Linked DNA regions of Homo sapiens: region 1 is linked to region 2. The links are contacts of gene promoters, found by promoter capture Hi-C in human tissues and cell types (Jung and others, 2019). All regions are on one chromosome and are shown on one strand. Each heading gives the region's core, a stretch centred on a gene start or on the middle of the fragment in contact. The rest is flanking DNA. Distances are from core to core; before and after follow the strand shown. Region 1 overlaps STAT5A (signal transducer and activator of transcription 5A). Region 2 holds the start of ATP6V0A1 (ATPase H+ transporting V0 subunit a1).

Region 1 (7,276 bases), core at 425-2,924, 160 kb after region 2:
AGAATAGTTTGAACCTGAGAGGCAGAGGTCGCAGTGAGATGAGATCGTGCCACTGCACTCCAGCCTGGGCAATAATAAATAAACAAACAAACAAACAAACATTTAGAATTATCCTGCAAGTATTTACATAATAGCTGCAATATTCAGGCATTGTGCTGGTCTCAGTGTACACAAAGCACTGACAGTGCAGGGTTAGGAAGAGAGCTTAAATAGCTACAATAGAATTCTAAAAAAATCAGCTGGGCGTGGTGGCCTGCACCTGTAGTCCCAGCTATGCGGGAGACTGAGGCACAAGAATTTCTTGAAGCTGGGAAGCAGAGGCTGCAGTGAGCCGAAATCATGCCACTGTGCTCCAGCCTGGGCGACAGAGCAAGATTGTCTCAAAAAAAAGAAAAGAAAAAGAAAGAAAAGAAAAGAAGAAAGGTCTAAAATCAATGACCTAAGGTCTACCTTAAGAAATCAGATTAAAAAGAGTAAAGGAAAAAGCAGTTTGACACCCCTTGTTCTCACTAAGATGAGGTGTTACATTTCTGGGGTCAGTCTGGAATGGGACATATTAATAGATGGGCCATGTCCCATGACTCCTCAAATTGTACCTGGGGATAGTTCCTTTCAAGCTAATTTGATTTTTTAATTTCCCCACATCTTTATCATGGGAGCCATTGGCGAACTACAGACCTAGGATACAGGAGAATTTTCTACTGTCACCCCTTCCCCCAGGCCCACATCCTATCCGTGAGGCTCAAGAAGGCCCACTTTGGAAGTTCCACCTCTCCCAGCCTGGTTCAACCAGAAGACTTCCAATCCAAGTCCTCCCTCTGGTTAGGGAGCACTGTTCATATTTACCTATTTGTGTCGATATTTACAGAATACATACCATTAAGGAGAGAATACTGGTTAATAAAGTACAGGAGTTTTATGATATATCTCTAGTTGAGATCCAGTTCTGTAATTTACAGGCAACCTAGGCCAAGTTACTTGTTCTCTTTGAACCTCACTTTTACCATCTGCAAAAGGGGGGATAACACAACTGTTCACTTCATAGGCTTGTTGAGAGGGTTGAATTAAATAATGTGTGCCAAGTGTGACCCACGGCAGGGGCTCAATCACCGGGAGCCATTGCTTCTACCAGGCTTTGGGCAAAGTGCTGAGGAGATGGACACTGACCCAGCTCTACCCTCTAGGAGTCCATAGAATGTTCCTCACTCCCACCCTCCGGATGCACACTGCCTCCACCGCGCCTCACCTTGGATCCTCAGGCTCTCCTGGTACTGGATGATGAAGTACTCCTGAGTCTGCTGCAGTTTCTTCAGCTCATTCTCTGTGTCCTGCGTGACCAGTCGCAGCTCCTCAAATGTCTGGTTGATCTGAAGGTGCTTCTGGGACATGGCGTCAACCAGGATCCCAGCCGGAGAGCTGCACTGGAGACAGATGGAATGGAAATAACTCGGGGAAGAGAGGATGGGAGAAGACCACAGGCATTAGGAAACACCAATACTACAGACCCCAAACCCCAAACCCCAAACTAGGGTAAGAAGGGAAACTAGGGCAAGAAGGAAGGATCATTTGCATCAGAAGGAGTCATTTGCCAGAATTGGGATAGAAAAGGGAAAGAGAAAGGAGAAACAGGTGACCTGGCAGATAACGGCAGATAGTAACACCTTCAAAGTCCAAATATCTATGTCAGAGCTGCCCTCCACTAGAGTATTCCAAACAGGGTCCATCTAATTTCCTCCCAGGGACTAGAACTCAACACGTCCCAGGTGTCACCTGGGTTTTCCCACTAATGATGATGACCCCTCGCTCTACATTTATTTGCTGACTCAATACCATGGACTGCAGTAGATCCTAGGGACATAGGGAGGAACAGGGCTGTGTGAACACACACCATCTCACTTAAGACCCCCTTGTGACTGAAGGAAGAGGGAAGAGGCCGAAACTCTCACAGGCATCCTGGAGACCCCGAAATGAAGTTAGAGGGGAGGCATCAACAAGCTCCCCTTGGATCCAGCCATTCCTTCAGCACATTCAGGAGAATCGCTTGAACCCAGGAGGGGGATGTTGCAGTGAGCCGAGATTGCGCCACTGCACTCTAGCCTTGGCAACACAGCGAGACTCCGTTTCAAAAAAAAAAAAAATAGAGAGAGAGGGGTAGAAACCAGGTCACAAAGGGAGGGAGCACATGGATGAAGAGGAACAAGTCCTCAGAGGCTTTCCAATGAACTGTTCTCAGAATAAAATCCAAACCCCTTCCCATGGTGTCTGCTGGCCATAGCCCTGCCTACCTCCAACCCCAGCTCGCTGGGAATGTGTGCTTTCTGTTTCTGTTCCTTGAACACACAGGCATGTTCCTGCCCTGGGGCCCTTGCACTTATTGTTCCAACAGTCTGGAACATTCTGGCATCAGATCCTCCTGAGGCAAAGCACTTTAACTGGTACCATTGCAGAGGGGTCATCTCTGACGAGCCAATTCACAGTAGTCCTATCTAAAAGTGTGTTGTTCTTGTATTTGCTTACATGTTTCTGTCTGTCTCCCTGCACAAGGATGTGAGGTTCCCAAGGGCTAGGACCTTGCCTTTCCTGTGAACTACAGAATCCCCAAGCCCTAGAATGCCAGGGGTGTTCAGGAACAGTTGTATGGTTGGAGGAAGGAATGAGCTCCCAGACCATGACAGCACCAGCACCATGGACATGGATTTGTCAATGAGGCTGAAGTCATTTTTAGGTTTGCAGATAGCTCTGTGATGGCAACAAGTCAGGGACACAGGGGCTGTGCTGGAAGACCCTTTGTGACCTGGTTTCTAACCCCTATTTTTTTTTTTTTTATACAGAGTCTCGCTCTGTTGCCCAGGCTGGAGTGAAGTGGTGCAATCTCAGCTCACTGCAACATCCCCCTCCTGGGTTCAAGCAATTCTCCTGCCTCAGCCGCCCGAGTAGCTAGGATTACAGGCGCCCGCCACCACGCCTAGCTAATTTTTGTATTTTTTAGTAGAGACTGGGTTTCACCATGTTGGCCAGGCTGGTCTCGAACTTCTGACGTCAGGTGATCCGCCCACCTTGGCCTCCCAAAGTGCTGGGATTACAGATGTGAGCCACCACGCCTGGCCCTCTCTATCTATTTTTATCCATGGCAACTCCCCACTTGGTTCCTTCTCCCCAGTTACACTGACCACTTACAAGTCTTCCAATGTGATAAGAAGATTCATGCCCTCCTGCTCTCGCAGCTGCTGTCTTTTCATTAGAAAATTCATCCCTCCTCTCCTGCCTTTCTCCACTGTAGCTCAGACATGCCTGTCCACAGGACGCTCCCCTGCCAGCCTGCCCCAATCTGAGTTGGGTGCTTTTTCCACCTAGGCCCCCTTAGCACTCAGCTCATCTCTAGAGAATCCATCACTGCCAGAATTCCTTCCAGGCAAGAACCAGGCCTTTATGTGTTTCTCTGATGATAGCCCAGCATCGGACACACAGTAAGACCTCAATAAATGTCTACTGAGTAAATCCTGAAATCCATGTCCACAACAATAAATACGTAATAGGCCGGGCGTGGTGGCTCATGCCTGTAATCCCAGCACTTCGGGAGGCCGAGGCAGGTGGATCACTTGAAGTCAGGAATTCGAGACCAGCCTGGCCAACAGGGTGAAACCCTGTCTCTACTAAAAATACAAAAATTAGCCGGGCATGGTGGTGGGCCCCTGTAATCCTAGCTACTTGGGAGGCTGAGGCATGAGAATCTCTTGAACCCAAGGGGTGGAGGTTGCAGTGAGCCGAGATCACGCCACTGCACTCCAGCCTAGATGATAGAGTGAGACTCAGTCTCAAAAATAAATAAACAAACAAACAAATAAAGAAAGAAATAATAAATATGACCTGTGCTCCGGTCACTGTTCTAAGATTTCTGTCACGTCATGTTGTGAAATTCATTTTGCTCTATTGCAGATAGTACAGCACTGTGCCATTGTCCATGTAGATGCCCAGTGCCTTTATTATTTCAGAACTGGGGAGATGTGTCCCTGTTACCCCTCCCTGGGCCTCACTTCTCTGAGCCTGCCTGTGTTAGTTCTTCTGACACAGATAGGTATGATTGCTATCTCCATTTTACAAGAGTAGGAACAGGCCGGGCACGGTGGCTCACGCCTGTAATCCCAACACTTTGGGAGGCCGAGGCGGGTGGATCATGAGGTCAGGAGTTCAAGACCAGCCTGGCCAACATAGTGAAACCACGTCTCTACTAAAAATACAAAAAAAATTAGCCGGGCATGGTGGTGGGCACCTGTAATCCCAGCTACTCGGGAGGCTGAGGCAAGAGAATTGCTTGAACCTGGGAGGCAGAGGTTGCAGTGAGCAGAGATCACATCACTGCACTCCAGCCTGGGCAACAGAGCAAGACTGCATCTCGGGGGGGAAAAAACAGTAGGCGCCAAGCGTGGTGGCTCACGCCTGTAACCCCAGTACTTTGGGAGGCCGAGGTGGGCGGATCACGAGGTCAGGTTGAGACCATCCTGGCTAACACAGTGAAACCCCATCTCTGCTAAAAATACAAAAAATTAACCGGGCATGGTGGTGGGCGCCTGTAGCCCCAGCTACTCGGGAGGCTGAGGCAGGAGAATGGTGTGAACCTGGAAGGCAGAGCTTGCAGTGAGCCGAGATCACGCCACTGCACTGCAGCCTGGGTGACAGAGCAAGAATCCGTCTCAAAAAAAAGAAAAAAGAAAAAAGAAAAAAAAACAGGAACAGAGGCTCAGAGAGATTAAGCAACTTGCTCAAGTCACACAGCTAGTAAGTGGTAGAGCCAGGGACTGGATCCAGGGGGTCACTCCACCCCGGCGTGCAATGCTGCCACCTCTTACACTTGCCCACGTCCCTCATCTTCTTGGTGCTCTCCTCGTGCTGCTGTTTTATATAAACACAGTTGTTTCTGGAGAGAAAGGCATATGGAGGGACTTCTCAACACTCCTCCCCATCCCCAAGGGACACTCACATTGTTGGCTTCTCGGACCAGCCTCTGTTCATTGTACAGAATGTGCCGGATGCAGCGGACCAGCTCCAGGGGGCAGCGGTCATATGTTTTCTGAAAGAATCCAACAGTAGCCTCCAGCGCCATCCTCTGCTCCAGCCATGCCAGCCCCATGCTATGCCCAGCCCTTCCTCTCCTTCAGCCTCTGCCTCAGCTTTTCCCAGGGAGCCTCAGGAACTATCCCCAGACACCTCTATATCTCTGTTCCTCATCCTCATCTTCCCCTCCAAGATCTTCATATCTGGTTTGGAGCGAATTAAAAACCCACAGTTTATGAGGCACTTTCTCTTTTTTTTTTTTTTCTTTTTGAGATGGAGTTTTGCTCTTGTTGCCTAGGCTAAAGGTGCAATGGTGTGATCTCAGCTCACTGCAACCTCCACCTCCCGGGTTCAAGCGATTCTCCTTCCTCAGCCTCCTGAGTAGTTGGGATTACAGGCATGTGCCATCACGCTCGGCTAATTTTGTATTTTTAGTAGAGGCGGGGTTTCTCCACGTTGGTCAGGCTGGTCTCGAACTCCCGACCTCAGGTGATCCACCCGCCTCGGCCTCCCAAAGTGCTGTGATTACAGGTGTGAGCCATCATACCCAGTCTTATGAAGCACTTCCAATCTACCGTATCTTTTGACTGTAACACAGGGGTCCCAAACCCCTGGGCCATGGACTGGTACAGGTCGGTGGTCTGTTAGGAACTGGACCACACAGCAGGAGGTGAGCGGCGGTGAGCAAGTGAGTGACGCTTCATCTGTATTTACAGCTGCTGCCTATTGCTCGCATTACAGCCTGAACTCTGCTTCCTGTCAGATCAGCAATGGCACTGGATTCCCATAGGAATGCTAACCCTATTGTGAACTGCACATGCGAGGGATCTAGGTTATGCACTTCTTAAGAGAATCTAATGCCTGGTGATCTGTCACTGTCTCCCATCACCCCCAGATGGGACTGTCTAGTTGCAGGAAAACAAGCTCAGGGCTCCCACTGATCCTACATTGTGGTGAGTTCTATAATTATTTCATTGCATAGCACAATGTAATAACAATAGAAATAAAGTGCACAATAAACGTGATGCTCTTGAATCATCCAGAAACCACCTCCCTGCCCAATCCCGGTCCATGGAAAAATTGTCTTCCATGAAACCGGTCCCTGGTGCCAAAAAGTGGTGGGGGATCAAGGCACTAACAGCATGGAAACTCTAGGACATAAGCAGAAACTATGATCCCCATTTCACAGATGAGAAAACTGATGCTCAGACATTATGTACTCGTCCAGACGCAACCAAGTGAGAGAGCAGATGACTCCAGACTCAGGGCATCTGATGCCAAGGTCAAGGTACTTCCCACCATCCTGCCCCTGGCCTCCTATATTGCTTCCCCTCAGGCTTCTCCTGTTTTCCCCCTCTTCTGGGATGGACTTGTATTTCCCTGGCACCCTGCTGTCTGTATTGAAGGGCTCTCTAGGAAACATACGTGAGTTCCAATAAGTGCTTGACTGTCATCACTACCCACACCCCTTTCCTGCTTCCACAAAAACTCCCTCTCTTCCTCCATACCCACTCCCCTCAAGTAAAGAAGCTACATCTTATTTCTAAACCCTCAATTCAAAGCCCTTGTGTCCAGCTCTTGTCTCTGGGATGGCTCCTCTCTCACCTTTAAAAGACCCCAAGAGGGAGGTCTGGTGGCCTCATTTCTAGAGTCTGCTGGTCTTCCCTTCTCCAACATAGGAATCCTGACTCAGTCTCCCTCCATCCCTTCTGCTGCTTCCATAAGGCCAGTTCACCCATCTCTCTCTGTTGGCAACAAACACCTCCCACCCTTGCTTTGCAATATGCTAAAGAAATCCGACAGGTCGAATTTAGAAAGAGGGGGTGGGGGAAATCGAAGAAAAGTTCCCAATAAGTTCGTGGTCACATGGTGAGTCAGTGGCCAGGCCAGGAAAAAACCCAGGGGTTCTGATGCTGGAACAAGATGATGCTTCCTCCCCGTAGGTGGCCCAGAGCCTACACCCACCTGGAGCTGCGTGGCGTAGTGCCCCAGCTTGATCTTCAGTAAAAACCCATCTTCCCCCACCTGGTGCTCCGCCTTCTTCTGCAGCTCCTGCACCAGGCCCTCCAGGAGCTGGGTGGCTTGGGCTCTGTCCTGGGGATTGTCCAAGTCAATGGCATCCCTTGGGGCAGGGCAGAAGAGAAAAACCTACTGTGGCACCTCCTTGGGCAAGGAGGTCAGGGAGCTGGAATAAAGTGGAAACCCCAGGCTCATGACCGAGGGC
Region 2 (6,619 bases), core at 811-3,310:
GCTGGGCCAGTGTCATTTCTTCACTCCGGAAAAGCTCCCCCATGGTGGCAGAAGGTACCAGTCTAGTGAGTACCTGGATTTCTCTCCAACCTGAAGCAAAGAGAAAATGACATAACTTTGGAAATTACCACGAGGGCTAAGAGCAAATGACACCCCACTACGGCTCTTGCATTTACATTTCTAACACCCCATGAGGACAGGTCAACAACTGTTTTTGACACCCTGTCTAGAAAGATGGAAAGGAGAAATTGCAAAGGCAGTTCCTGAATTCTGTCCCACAGAGTGTCAGATGAAAAGTCACTTCCATTCCAGTCAACATCAGGATCAAATGACAATTATTTTGGGCAACTCAACTGATAAGAATGTATCCAGATTAAAGACAGGAACTGGGAACCTCAAACAACTCTTTAAATACCCAGGACACAATATTGAGGCAGTGAGTTTCACACTGCTCAATCTGTTTTTGCTAGTGCAGGAAACAAACAGAAGAGGCCTTCAATACCCTCTCATAAAGATGTCTGCCTTGTAACTATCCTTCTCCCTTCTACTGACAATGCGCATTTCTAAAAGCCCAAAGTTCTGGCACTATCCTAAAGCTATGGCTACACTAAAGGGTTTAATCTTCCAGATTCCTCAGAAAACAATATTTCCCCACTTAGGAATTCAAACAAATAACCGTCATCTGGAAAAAGCAACCAGTTTGCATATTAAGCTCAATTTCAAATCAAGCATGACAGGAACACACTGATAATGACAAAGCAGTTTTATCAAGCCACAGAGAATAAGCCTTCCACCTCTGCAGCTTTCTGTTTCTCAACCCTACCTTCAAGATTAATTACATTCTTCCATCTGTCAAATCTCATGAGCCAATAAAGGTTTCGTTTTAGTGCTGTCTTACTGTTGCCGGGTATGAGACAACTGGCGCTATCAGTGGTCCTGAAACTGCAATTATTTATTCTCGATCAGCTAATGTAAGGCACAGCCTGTCCAGTATCCAAACTCAGAAAAATGCACAGTATTTTTAGTGTCATAAGGGCATCTATACTGAGTACTGATAGATGAGTCTGACATCAAAGGAAGATTTACTCTTCTGGAAGGCTGGGAGACATTTTGAGAAATCTGAACGAACAAACCTTTGTGCATGTGATGTTCAAGACAGTAACACAAGCTCAGACATAAGCAAGGACTTCTCAAGAGAATATGCAGGCTGACTTTAAGATTCTGTACATCTGAATCATCCAAATCAGCTGTTACCGGCACCACCCTTAAACAAAGAGAGATTCTACAACCTCTAAACACATAAAATTAGGCCTGGTCAGCATAGTTCAGGAGCTGTGGATAATGATAAGCCTCCAACGAGTCGCCTCCGTCCTCCTGCTCTTTAATGATTATAGGTCTCCCAAGAATATCTCTATAGCAATGGAGGCTAACAGAAAACTAATTAGGCCAAAGTAGTTCTGGACGATCACAAAACAAAATATGAAGAAACAGCAATTCTGCAAAAGATGAGTCCAACTACAGCGCCCCCGCGCCCTGCCTAGAAGAATCTCACTCCTGTCATCCGGTCCTCGCCTCCTCCCACGGTATTCACCTGCTTCATTTCCTGTCTACCCAATGAGCAGGAATTCTCTGGACTCAGGCTCATCTACCTTGAGATGGGAAAAAAGGAGAGGAAAACCCCCAAACTGAGAAACCCTTTAAGAAGCCCCCTAAATTCTTCTGCCTATCCAATAACCTCCGGTTCCTCCGCCTACCCCTTAAAGCAGGGAAGAGATGCGGGGCTTCCAAAGGGCAGTGAGCCTCCGGTTCCTCAGGGCAGAGGAGGGGTGCCCAAGGAGGGGGCGAACCCCCATTTTATCTCGAAGACGTCAGATCCCCGCTAATTCCTCTGACAATCAAGGGGGCTCTTAGAAGGATTTCCTACGTCCATCGAGGGCCGCTCCCTGTTGCGCTAAACCTACAGCCCCCACTCACCTCCAAACTCCGCCACAGCAACCGCCACAGAAACCACCGCAGCCAAACCCGCACCCTCCGCGGCTCCAGGAGCAGCGCTTCGACGTGCTTGCGTCCGTAAAGCCCCGCCCCTGCGCCGCCGCCGGCCCCCGCCCCCGCAATGACCTCATTGCAGTTGGCCAATGGGGCGCAGCCTCGCCCGGGCTGCAGCAGTGCGGAGTCACGGGGGTCGCAGGCGAGACCCAGCGTGCTGACGCCATGTTGGCCCCTGTGCTGTATCTCCACGCTGGGGAGGGTTAGCGGGTGGGGCTGGAGGTGCAGGTGCTCGAGGCCTTAAGTTCCTGAGCCTCCCTGAATCCTTTTTCTTACCCCTTATACTGGGGTAGGTTGTCTTTTCTCTTTCTTTTTTTTTTTTTGAAGTCTCATTCTGTTGCTCAAGCAGGAGTGCAGTGGCGTGATCTCGGCCCACTGCAACCTCCACCTCCCGGGTTCAAGCGATTCTCCTGCCTCAGCCTCCCAAGTAGCTGGGACTACAGGCACGCACCACCATGCCCGGCTAATTTTTGTATTTTTTTTTTTTTTAAGTAGAGACGGGGTTTCACTATGTTGGCCAGGCTGAGTCTCGAATTCTGACCTCGTGATCCACCCGCCTCGGCCTCCCAAAGTGTTGGGATTACAAGCGTGAGCCACCACGCCCGGCCTTTTTTTTTTTTTTTTTTTTTTTTTTTTAGATGGTCTGTTTCCCAGGCGGGAATGCAGTGGCGCGTTCTCGGCTCACTGCAGCCTCCGCCTCCCGGGTTCAGGGGATTCTCCTGCCTCAGCCTCCCTAGTAGCTGAGATTACAGGCACGCACCACGCCACCCGGCTATTTTTGTATTTTTTGTAGAGATGGGGTTTCGCCATGTTGCCCAGACTGGTCCTGGCCTCCACCCGCCTCGGCCTCCCAAAGTGCTGGGATTACAGGTGTGAGCCACCGCGCCCGGCCCTCTCTTTATTTTCATATCCAAAGAATTAATTCACACATACGCACCCAAATAATTAATGTCTTCTCTCTTTATTTTCATATCCAAAGAATTCACACACACACTCAAATAATTAATACGCAGACACATATACCACCCTTTCTCTTTTCCCTTATTTTACAGATGAGAACATTTGAGCCCCAGACTGGGGAGCGGCTAGCTTTAGATCCTGTAGTAGAGTCTTTAACGGGGTCTCATTTGCATAAGTATGGAAAACCTCTCTTTAAATGGTACATGGTTCATGCCTTCCAGCAACTTCCCCGGGTCTATTTTTCTCTGTTTAACAGGAAAAACCTCATCAGACCATATGTTGTGAAAGTACATTTCAGTCTTGTTTGGTAGATTCATGTGGGCTCAATTGACCACTTAGGAGTTTTCAATTCCTCAAATTTATTTTAAAAACATTTTTTATGGCTTGTACTCAACTTGTAAATTAAATATTGAAAAACATTTTTTAAACGCAAAAGTGATGTCTATTATTTTTTAAATGCCATTATCAAATATTGATATTGATTCCCTTTTCTTGCCCTTTTAAAGAAGAGTAGGGATCTCAAGTCGTTTGTGATAACCAGAATTGTATCAGGAAAAACTCAGAAAACCGGTTATTCTGTCTTCCTGGGTGGTGGAACCCTGTTGAAATTCAAGTGTAATGAGGGAGATATTCCAGATAAAAACTTGTTGCTGATAATTTTGTCAACCTGACAAAAACATCATCAAACCTGCTTTACCAGCCTAAACAAAATAAGGGGACAAAAATGGACGTTTTATTTGAATTTATTGTCTCATATTGTGAGTGAAGATATAACCTGACTTCAATACAACCTTCTTAAGACACAGAGTCTTGGAGAGACCCATACCCTCCTTCTCCCTGCTCCCTAGCTCTCAACCCTTCTGGCAAGACAGATCGGGACCCACATTTAAAAGCCTGCCAAGTTAGAGAAAACTGTTACACAATATCATTTCCTTCCTCTGAGACTTAAAAAAAAATTAACCTCAGTCAGCTGCTTGCTAACCACAAATTTTTCATACTCCACTTTTAAGACAGCCTTTCCTGTGGACTTACTTCAATTCCCTTGAACTCTTTTCACGGCTTCTTTGAAAGAATATTGTTTCAGAACTCCTTTTCTGTTTGCTTCCATCTCCTGCCATCAATCTTTCCTCAGTGTTCTATTTATTTTCCCTCCATGCTGTCTTCCTTGATGGTCTTGAGTGTTGTCAAGCTTAAACGTTTATGTGTAGGACTCTTATCTGTTTTTCCACCTGACTTCCTTCTTCAAGACTCAGAAATGGAATTTCATACTGCCTGCTTGATAGTGCCTTTTAGGCAGCAGATGCTTGCTGAGGGCCTACTGTGTGCCAGAGAGGGGTACTAGGTGCTGGGGATAGAAAATGAAACAGACATGCTTCTTATCCTTGGAGAGCTCATGGTTCAGTGAGAAAGAAACTTCCCAAATGGCAAGAGAGAGAGGAGTGCAGTGATTAATACTTACTATGTGCCAGGCACTTTTCTACATGCTTGGTAAATACAAACTCATTTAATCCTCACAACAACATTAGGAGGCAGTTACTATTATTATCCCCATATAACAGATGATATGGTAAAACTGAGGCATATGTCCAATAAGATCAAATTTAAAATGCTGTTGACCACACCTACAGCCCTAGAAGACATGAGCAATTCCATATGAGGCTTGGCCAGTGACACAGTTCCGAGTATCTAAACCGAGCTATTCCCTAGCATTTGTGAAAATGGCTAAAAAACAATTAAAGCCAGGTGTGGTGGCTCACGCCTGTAATCCCAGCACTTTGGAAGGCTGAGGCGGGTGGATTACCTGAGGTCGGGAGTTTGAGACCAGCCTGGCCAACATGGTGAAAACTCATCTCTACTAAAAATACAAAAAATTAGCTGGGGATGGTGGTGCATGCCTATAATCCCAGCTACTCAGGAGGCTAAGGCAGGAGAACCACTTGAACCCAGGAGGCGGTGGTTGCAGTGGCCAAGATCGCGCCATTGCCCTCCAACCTGGGCAATAAGAGCAAAACTGAGTCTGAAAAAAAAAAAAACAGTTATAAAGATTAGTTCTTCACTACCACAAAAAGAATAGAACAGAGGTAGGGATCTAACTGATAGAGTCTCAAAATGTTACAAGAATTGTCACTGTAGTGAAATTATTAAATGTGGTTTTTTATCTTTAATTTTTAGTTTGAATGAATGCGTGTCAATTGTCCAAATTTCCACCAGTGAAGAATCAGCTAGCTCATCTTAGCTTATCCCACTTAGATTCCTAGATGGGGCCTAGAGGAGAGTTTTAACGTTAAGCCCGGTGTTTTGAAATACGTATCTGCTCCAGTGTCTTCTCCACAGGCTTCCAGTATTCGTTTCCCTAAGGCTGCCATACAAATAACCACAACCTGGGTAGCATTTAAAACAACAGAAATCAGGTCAGCCGAGGTGGCTCACGCCTGTAATCCTAGCACTTTGGGAGACCGAGGCCAGCCTGTCACCTGAGGTCAGGAGTTCGAGACTAGCCTGGCCAACATGGGGAAACCCCATCTCTACTAAAAATACAAAAATTAGCAAGACATGGTGGTGGGCGCCTGTAGTCTCAGCTACTTGGGAGGCTGAGGCAGGAGAATCACTTGAACCCAGGGGGCAGAGGCTACAGTGAGCCAAGTTTGCGCCACCTCACTCCAGCTTGGATGAAAAAGCAAAACTGTGTCTCAAAAAAACAAAAAACAACAGAAATCGGCCATGCACGGTGGCTCACTCCTGTTATCCCAGCACTTTGGGAGGCCAAGGCAGAAGGATGGCTTGAGCCCAGGAGTTTGAGACCAGCCTGGACAACACAGCAAGACCCACGTCTGTAAAAAAAAAAAAAAAAAAAAATTAGCTGGGCATGGTGGCACGTGCCTGTAGACCCAGCTACTCAGGAGGCTGAAGTGGGAGGATGGCTTGAGCCTGAGCCAGGGAGGTTGATGCTGCTGCAGGGAGCCGTGATTGAGCCACTGCATTTCAGCCTGGGTGACACAGTGAGGCCCTGTCTCAAAAAAACAAAAACACCGAAATTTATTCTCTCACAGCGGAGGCTAGAAGTCTGAAATTAAGGTGTCTGCAGAGCATGGTATCTCCAAAGGCTCTGGGAAAGAATCCTTTCTTCCCTCTTCCTGGCTTCTGGTGGTTGCCAGAAATCCTTGGTGTTCCTTGGCTTATAGATGCATCATTTCAATTGTTGCCTCCATCGTCACATGGTATTCTTTCTTCTATATGTCTTTTTTTTTTTATTTGAGATAGAGTCTTGCTCTGTCGCCCAGACGAGTGCAGTGGCGCAATCTCAGCTCACTGCAACCTCCACCTCCCAGGTTCAAGCAATTCTCCTGCCTCAGCCTCCTGAGTAGCTGGGATTACGGGTGTGCACCGCCACGCCCAGCTAATTTTTGTATTTTCAGTAGAGACGGGGGTTCGCCATACTGCTCAGGCTAGTCTCGAACTCCTGGCCTCAAGTGATCCACCCGCCTCAGCCTCCCAAAGTGCTGGGATTACAGGAGTGAGCCACTGCACCCGGCCTTCTCTATGTGTCTCTGTCTGTAGGCAAATTCTCCTCTTCTTATAGGGGCACCAGCCATTAGATTAGGGCACCACTTAA

What was found. Contacts are between HindIII fragments. The study calls those that stand out against the background at their distance.
Region 1: a contact is called between a fragment that was not itself captured here and the fragment with the promoter of ATP6V0A1 in region 2, in 1 of the 25 tissues and cell types used here (mesenchymal stem cells).

Annotation. Positions count from the first base shown.
Region 1 is chr17:42,289,764-42,297,039 of GRCh38, reverse strand. It overlaps STAT5A (signal transducer and activator of transcription 5A), which reads right to left. Exons shown (of 19, transcript NM_001288718.2): 3 at 7,018-7,174; 4 at 4,979-5,068; 5 at 1,247-1,421. Among named protein-coding and RNA genes, the nearest start is that of STAT5A, 4.9 kb to the right of the region's middle. The HindIII fragment of the contact is 8,359 bases long and covers 1-5,853 here.
Region 2 is chr17:42,454,319-42,460,937 of GRCh38, reverse strand. ATP6V0A1 (ATPase H+ transporting V0 subunit a1) reads right to left here and starts at 2,060. Exons shown (of 22, transcript NM_001130021.3): 1 at 1,975-2,060; 2 at 1-90. The coding sequence starts at 43. RefSeq lists a silencer at 1,991-2,200 and an enhancer at 2,351-2,440. The HindIII fragment of the contact is 16,608 bases long and covers 1-6,619 here.